Regions from separate parts of the Homo sapiens genome. Here regions 1 and 3 are each linked to region 2. Evidence: promoter capture Hi-C in 16 types of primary human blood cells and fetal thymus (Javierre and others, 2016). All regions are on one chromosome and are shown on one strand. The core of a region is centred on a gene start or on the middle of the fragment in contact, and the rest is flanking DNA. Distances in the headings are between cores, read along the strand shown.

What was found. The method cuts DNA at HindIII sites, captures the fragments that hold promoters and counts their contacts. A CHiCAGO score of 5 or more calls a contact.
Region 1: a contact is called between the fragment with the promoter of TCEAL8 here and the fragment with the promoter of GLA in region 2, in 1 of 17 cell types (fetal thymus). The highest score is 5.2, in fetal thymus.
Region 3: the fragment with the promoter of ARMCX5 here is called in contact with the fragment with the promoter of GLA in region 2 in 1 of 17 cell types (monocytes); the score reaches 6.2 in monocytes.

What each region holds. Positions count from the first base shown.
Region 1 is chrX:103,253,791-103,256,490 of GRCh38, forward strand. It overlaps TCEAL8 (transcription elongation factor A like 8), which reads right to left and starts at 1,365. Exons shown (of 3, transcript NM_153333.3): 1 at 1,288-1,365; 2 at 815-887; 3 at 1-227. The coding sequence starts at 189. RefSeq lists an enhancer at 1,302-1,351. The HindIII fragment of the contact is 6,472 bases long and covers 1-2,700 here.
Region 2 is chrX:101,406,584-101,409,283 of GRCh38, forward strand. It overlaps GLA (galactosidase alpha), which reads right to left and starts at 1,342. Exons shown (of 7, transcript NM_000169.3): 1 at 1,127-1,342. The coding sequence starts at 1,320. All of the region lies in intron 3 of RPL36A-HNRNPH2 (RPL36A-HNRNPH2 readthrough), which reads left to right. HNRNPH2 (heterogeneous nuclear ribonucleoprotein H2) reads left to right here and starts at 1,639. Exons shown (of 2, transcript NM_019597.5): 1 at 1,639-1,736. The HindIII fragment of the contact is 11,084 bases long and covers 1-2,700 here.
Region 3 is chrX:102,598,123-102,600,822 of GRCh38, forward strand. ARMCX5 (armadillo repeat containing X-linked 5) reads left to right here and starts at 1,393. Exons shown (of 4, transcript NM_001168478.2): 1 at 1,393-1,725. ARMCX5-GPRASP2 (ARMCX5-GPRASP2 readthrough) reads left to right here and starts at 1,393. Exons shown (of 19, transcript NR_146584.3): 1 at 1,393-1,725. RefSeq lists enhancers at 1,439-2,210, 1,643-1,692. The HindIII fragment of the contact is 9,703 bases long and covers 1-2,700 here.

The DNA of each region.
Region 1 (2,700 bases), core at 115-2,614, 1.8 Mb after region 2:
CTCTTTAAATCCCTGGCCAGGCTGATTCGGCCCTCCTCTGGGGTTTCCTTCTGCTTCCTGGCTTACGCCTTCTTCGGAAGGTTGAGGATTTCCTTCTGCCTCCTGTGGTACATCCTCCAAAGGGCGATCTTCCTCGGCCTTTGGCATGTTCTGTGGTTTTCCCTCATTTTCTTCACAAGACTTTTGCATATTGAGTATTTTTTATTTCCTTTTTGAATAAATTAATCCTAGAAAACAAGGAAACAAAACTACTAGATTCCAGGCAAACAGACCAGCAGTCAGAGTATGGGGTCCCATAGCGACTGGCCTTTTTTGACTCAGTACCCTAATTGTCAAAAGTTTTCCAACTAGAGAAAGCTGGATCCTCAGGCTCAGAACTCCCCTGACTCCACCTCCCTTCGCGCCCCCTTTCGTTCCAGCTCCATCTTTCTCCTCCTGCTCCTGCCCACCATCTTCCCAGCAGGCCCTGCTACAAGCCTCTCCTAATACTGAAATGGGAGCAGTACGGAAGCAATTAACCCTTCTCCCGCCTCTGGTCTCCAACACTCCCGCCCTTCAGACTTTCCCAGGCCCTCTCAACCTCCAGCCTCTCACCTGAGACGGCTGGTCCAGTCTCTGGCCTCCCCTCCCCCTTCAGCGTCTCTTAAGCCTCCTCCTCCCCCGCCTCATTTCCGCTGCAGGCTCGGCACCGGCCTCTGGCACTTAATCCGGATGGGGAGGGGCTGCTGCGACCCCAGGATGTGCTTTGGTGTCACTCACACTTCCACCCCCACCCGAAGAGACCTGAAGCAATTGCACCTTTACAAAAACTGACCTGCAGGGATTCAGGGGATTTTCCTCTCTCTTCCCTCACCTCGATTTGTGTCGCGCCCAAAAAACCAAATATCCTGCAGACAGATGGGAGTGTTTGGTGAGCAGACTAGTACCTGGATCACGGGTCCCTTTCATGATTCTAGGCCATGTTGGTGTAAAGTTTCCCATGTCCTCATCCTCGCCCTCCTTTTATGGCAACCCCGCCCTCCTCCGTGCCCACCGTTTTTCTGCAAGCAGGGAGTAGGAAAAGCAAGTTTCTTCCAAACAGTTTCTATGTCTCTCTCTCAGGACCCTTAATTAGCTACCCTTCTCTCTCTCCACCCGCCATCCCCCACCAAACAGCCCCAAATTTCCTGCACAAAATGGGAGTTTGGCGGAACAGAAGTGGGGAAAGCAGTGCCGGCCCCGCTTGCTTTCTGCTCTCGGCCTCCTCGACCCCAGGGTCTCCAAGTCAGCGCCCACGTTTATACTAACCTGAAAGGATCTTGGGCACTTTTCTCCTTCTCCAGCAATAAGGAGCTGCTACAGGGAAACAGGCCCTGGACTATAAGGACTTCTGCACACGTCGACTCCTGGTCACGTGAGAGTCGCGTCATCACTGAGCTCGAGTCCCCAGTTACCCCTCCCATTAACACTGCAGCCCGCCCGCTGCGTTCCCTCCACTTGATACTGTCAATCTTTTTTCGTATTTGCCAATCGGAGACAATAAACTGTTATCTTCGCCCTGGAGTATTTATTCGCCTTTCTCAGATTACCAGGAGGATCAGCCTTTTAGGGGTAATCGACCATTTCTCCTTCTTTGAGGAATCATCTCTTTCTTCTGCTCCCAATACTCCCACCTCCCCTCCTCCAAGACCCCTACAGTCCACCATTTCCCCTGGAATCCTATCCAGCATTGAAATGGGCAAAGGTGGTAGATCGGGAAGAGGGGGCTGGAAAAGAATCTAAGGTTGAAAGTGGAGGATTTGACTAATCCTCTTGAATAGTTTTCTGTTGTGTTCTATGTTTTCAGCAATCAGCATACTTTTAAAAATGGTATCAGAAAACGGATGCCTCATAAGCAATATGTAACACTTAATATGAAGGACAAATTAGTTATATCAATGTGTAAGACTTTGGAAAAGTTTTCTAATGGCTGGAAATGAAATGACAATATTCACAACATATTGATGTGTTAGAATTTTTTAAAATCTTACCAAACAGCACTTAAAAAATTGACTCCCAAATTAATGTGTGGAAGGAGGCCTAGTTTTCTCTTGTTAGCAATTTTGTATAGGTAATCTACTACTCTTTCTATTTCTGGCAGAACTCAAGTTATCAAGTGTTGGATGTCTGATCTTTTTCATTGATGACCACTGGTGGCATCCACTAAGGTTTCACTTGGAGGCTTCAGACAGACTTCCTCCCCATTTCCTCTATAGGATTCAGTATCTTGTTAATCAGATAAGTCCACAGAAAAGCCTGCTTTCCACTGAGTAAAATTCTTTTGGAACTCAAAGTAGTATGTTTCTTGGAAAACATTTCGTTGTTGGGAAATAACTCATACACTCATGAAACACTCAGAAAAGAGAATTCTCTGTATCTCACCATCAGGCTTGAGGCTTCTTTGCATGGCATTTTCATTCATGGCACTCTTGAGATAGTCTGGTATCATCCACTGTGTCCCATTAAAAGAACTATTGACATGCATAATTGTTATGATTAGAAAGCAAAGAGAACAACATTGCTGTAAAAAATAATATTAAACAGGAAACTGATATCCCTGCAACTCAGAATCCACTGGTACTTGGAAGGATGGTGGTGCCTGGAGTGGCATTCTGGCCAATGGAGCCAGCTGGAGAGTCAGAAGAAGACAGAGGGGGTCTTTTGTCTAGGGTGGTCACAGCA
Region 2 (2,700 bases), core at 92-2,591:
CTGTACCACAGGGTCACATGAAACTTACAAGGCCAATTTCTTCTGTGATGTCTGACCAACATCCTGACTTTATCTATAAAGATATTCATAGGAATAACTTATGGACACAGAAATGTACTGTGACTGCCACCTTTTACCAACATCTATCAGTGATTCCTAACCTTTTTTAAATCACAGAGCCCTTTGAGAATTTGAAGAAAGGTAAATATCCTCTCTCCAGAAAAATACACATATTCATTCAGATTTGTAGATTTACATTCATTTTCCCATTGAACATTTGCTCTGTAAGCGCAGTTGAATGGTCAAGCGCTGTGCTATGTACTTTAAATAGGTTATCTCCTTGAAAACTCACCTGTGTGAGATAAGAACTATTTTTCAGATTTTTTTTGTCAGCTCCCTGAAATTAAAAGGTTGTAATCCCAATTTACAGATAAGGATTGTGAGGGTCAGATATGTTCAATACCTATCTAATCCAGCCTCAACCCTCACGCAAAGGTGTAAATGTATAAAGTTCCTCCATGTCAACCTTCCAGCCTGATGCCACGCTCATGGGCGAGGTGGGAGAGATCTCAGCGACCTTATGGTCTCTCTAACTCCCTCGAGATACTGCCGAGAAATCCACGACCCCAAAAGGAGAAAAAATGGCACGAATCTTAGTTCCCCATTCCTCCTACCCACCCTAGATGTTCTAACGGTTAGCACCCGGCAGAGGAAGAGCAGAAGTTCACAAGAAGGGTCTGAATAGAACCGGGCAGGGCTACTTTGGGCACACTGCCTATGGGGTGGCCCTGCTCTGCAAGGAGCAGTGAAAAAAGAGAACCGGGCAGGGAGAGAGAGAAAGAGAGAGGAAAGAAGAGAAAGAGAAAGAGAAGGAGAACGAGAGAGAGAGAGAGAGAGAAAGAAACAGGGGCCGCTGGCCGGACTCCCATCCCAGGAAAGGTCACACAGAGAAAGTTTAGGGCTAGTCCTGATTCGGGACAGTTTGCTGGGGATAAAAAAGCAGCAGCAGAGTCGGGTGGGGGAGCTCTCCCTCGGGCTCAACTGTTCCCGTTGAGACTCTCCAGTTCCCCAAACACACCCAAACACATGGAAAAGCAAAGGGAAGGGAGTACCCAATATCTGATACCTGATGCAGGAATCTGGCTCTTCCTGGCAGTCAAGGTTGCACATGAAGCGCTCCCAGTGCAGCCAGCCCATGGTAGGCGTCCTTGCCAATCCATTGTCCAGTGCTCTAGCCCCAGGGATGTCCCAGGAAACGAGGGCCAGGAAGCGAAGCGCAAGCGCGCAGCCCAGATGTAGTTCTGGGTTCCTCAGCTGCATTGTCACGGTGACCGGACAGCATAAATTTCCGCGGGTAACCTGGGCTTTTAAGATTAACCTCAGGGGCGGACCAATCACCGATGACTTATTAAATAATGACGTTATTGTTTCTCTGGCAACTGGGACGGTTATCCCCAGAGGTAGACCAATAATCAGTCACGTAAGACGTTCCGCTAACCAATCACCCTCTTCCTTTCTTGATATTGACCCGCCCTATTTCCATACCAGAAGGAAGTGCGGCACCTTAGTGATCCCGAGTTTAAGCCGAGAGTTGCTCACGTGACCGAGATCTCACATGACGTAGGCGCTCACGTGATTACTCGCTTACGTGAGCAGAAGTAGTTCTGGTCGTCGTCTACCGTCTCGCTATAGCCGTTTGAGGGAAGAAGGAGGAAAATTACCCGGTATCGTTAGAGGTTGGTGTGTGGGTGGGAACTGGGGACCCAGGGGTGGTGATGATGAAGACCAGAGCGGGGTTCGGGGGCCGCCTCCGCCTCTTTCGTTCTCTGCTTTCCCCTCCCCCCTCGCGCTCTCTCCCTCCTCCCCCCCATCTCAGTGCCGGGAAGCCGCCTGTGCTGCGCCTGGTGGGGAAATGGTGGACGCTCATGACTGTGTATGTGTTTTTGTATATCTGTCTGTCTGGGCCGGTCTCGGGGGACCCCTAAGGGTGACCGTAAGGCGAAAAACGTTTGAAAACCACGGCCCTGAGTTAAGAAAAACAGATACTGAAAATAGTGGTCTGAGTGCTGGTCTATCCATTCAGGCACTCAGTCTCCACTGCCTGATTGTCTGTAAGGGGAGGCCCCAAGTGAATTTTATCTGTAGAGTCACATCTAGGCAAATGCGTGCTTGACAAAGGCGCCCAATAAATTACTTTACTGAATAGAGTATTTGAATAATGTTTATTTTTCTGCTGATAACAACAATCTACATATTCAATTTCGAACATTTGAAAAATAACAATATAGTATAAAATTTAAAAATACACATAATTCACCACCCGGAGACGACTGCTCAACCTGATGTCGTTACAGTTTTTTAAAAAATGTGTATAACACACATATAAATACACAAATTCTTAACTCACAAAGAGTCCTGGTTCCCACTTTAGCCAGCAGTCCTGATGGCCTTCCCAGGAGACGCAGTAATGAAGTAGAACCTCTCTGCCCCTACAGAAGGGCTCTTAAGGAATAGAGCGGTGCAGGGAATTAAATGGGACGGGTTATCCCAGGGATAAGGCAAGCAAAAAAAAAAAAAAAAATCCTGCAAAATGAAATAAAAAAACAGCTTGTAAATCTGTCACTGAGACCTTAGGATGGTTAATAGGAAAACTGTTATCACTGCAGATGCAGTGTGCTAGGCACATAATCGGCAATCAGT
Region 3 (2,700 bases), core at 143-2,642, 1.2 Mb after region 2:
GGAACTTACATTTACGAGAAAAAAACAAACAACCCCATTAAAAAGTGGGCAAAGGACATGAACAGACACTTCTCAAAAGAAGACATTTATGTGGCCAACAAACACATGGAAAAAAGCTCAACATCACTGATCATTAGAGAAATGCAAATCAAAATCACAATGAGATACCATCTCACACCAGTCATAACGGCAATTAATACAAAGTTAAGAAACAAGAGATGCTGGCAAAGTTGCAGAGAAATGGGAACGCTTTTACATTGGTGGGAATGTAAATTAGTTCAACCATTGTGGAAGACGGTGTGGCAATTCCTCAAATATCTAGAACCAGAAATACCATTTGACCCAGCAATCCCATTACTGGGTATATACCCAAAGGAATATAAATCATTCTATTACAAAGATACACGCACACGTATATTCATTGCCGCACTATTCACAATAGCAAAGACGTGGCATCAACCCAAATGCCCATCAGTGATAACATTAAGAAAATGTGGTGCATATACACCATGAAATACCATGCAGCCATAATAAAGAATGAGATCATGTCCTTTGTAGGGACATGGATCGAGCTGGAAGCCATTATCCTCAGCAAACTAATGCAGCAACAGAAAACAAATACTGCATGTTCTCCCTTATAAGTGGAAGCTGAACAATGAGAACACATGTACACAGGGAGGGGAAAAACACGCACTGGGACCTGTCAGGGGTTGTGGGGGGCGGTGAGGGAAAGCCTTAGGAAAAATAGCTAATGCATGCCAGGCTTAATACCTAGGTCATAGGTTGATTGGTGCAGCAAGCCACCACGGCACACGTTTGCCTATTTAACAAACACGCACATCCTGCACATGTATCCTAGAACTTAAAAAAAAAAAAAAGAAAATGAAAATTAAGGGCTGGGAGGGAGGACTCGAAGGAACACAAAGTTTGTGGAATCGATTAGTATGTATCCTCCTATCTCAGTCTTGACTCTCTTTGCTGACTTTCCTACCCTGGGCCCCACCCCGAGACCGCCCATTTCAGTGGGCCTCTGTGTTTGGAGAACGAACTTCGAAAGACTGGAACACTTCCGCCTGTCAGGCCAGAAGAGATTTCCTGACACCACAGCTGGAAACCCATGTGCATTTCAGTTCAGGAAAGAATGGTAGGCTTGGTGGGGGGAGCTCCCGCAAAAGGGGAACTAATACAGAAACACTCTGGTATTTGTCTGCCTCTCTTGTTCCAGCGCCGTTTTCCCTATATCCGGAATTCGTCCCTGCGCATTCCAATACCTGAAGCGGCCACAGGGTACAGGACAGGGAGCCCTCCGACAGAAAAGAGTCGCGGCGCTAAACAAAGCCTGATATCACTCCGCTTCCATAAGCCGGATCCCCATAAACTACGCTCTAGCTCCTCCCACTGCCGTTGTGGGTAACGCGGACGTGGAAGAACCTCGTCTGCGGAGGAAAAGGTAGATGTTAAATGGTAACTACGCGCGAGGTTCTGAGGAGCCCTGGGAACAGGAAGGAGAAAAGAATACCAAAAGTGACAACAGTTTGCCAATCGCAGTCTTTAATCTGATAAAGCGGTTATCTCGTCTTGAGTCCCAGGTGCCGAGTCAATCCCCATACACAGCCGCCGCCATTGCCTCGAGTCCTTGTGTCTGACTGTCTGTTCCTGCTGCTGTATGACACAGCACCTCGAGGCAAGGAAATAAGAAAACTGCCTCTGATCCAAGCAGAGAAGGTCAGTGAGAAGGTGCGCATCGCTTGGGGGTGGATGTGGGTATCAGAGGTGAACACTGGATACGCGACCTGGTCATGGGAGGCGGGCGGTGAGAAGGAGAGAGAGATGGGTAATTGGAATGGCACACAACAATTAAAAAAAAATGATCTACCTTTTGCTAGCTTGATTTCCATACACTCGGTTCACCTCAGACCATGCTTGGGAAGAAAAAGGTTGCAGCTTCTAGCAGGGAAAAGGCAGACTAGATGAGGAAGAGAGGGCTACTTCCACAGGCGAGGACAGTTGTCTGGGGAGCCCTGAGAGGGAGAGAATGTAAAAAGAGGTTGTAAATGTTTGATAATCAAGGCTCTGGATTTGAAAAGGGTCTCATGTCTTGGTTACTGGTCTGACCATTAATAACCACGTCTCTCTCTCTGTCTTTTCATTTGTTCTTTGGGTGTGTATCACGCGTTTTTATGTGTAAATCTGTTCCTAAGTTTGCAGCACTCCATGTTTCTGTAAAGATCTGTAGGGGACAGCAGACCTCAAGGGGAGAGGAGAAGGAAAAGAAAATTGGCCTGGTTTGTACAGAGTGGGCAGTACTTGGGAGGCAGTACTTGGAGGTGGTAGATGGCTAAGATTAGAGTAGGCAGGAGTGTAAGGGAGCCTCCAGAACTCTCTGCCAGCTTTCCTAACATGTCCTCCCTTACCCGCATTATGTTGCAGAAAATGATAGGCTTTGGGAGAGAGGAAGGAAACATAGGAACCCAGATGAAATATGGAAATAAATACTTTTCATTTTTTCCCCAGCCTCCGTGGTTTGTCTAGGCATTTCGTCCCTACTAACACCACTACTACTACCTTGTAGGGATGTTTGAGTTGTCTCTGTATAGGAATTGTCAGACTTTGAGAATAGAGCAGAGGGGCTTGGAGATTTAGGAGTGGGAGAAAAAGGGGAGATAGAAAATGTTTGCCAAACAGGTACTTATATCCAGA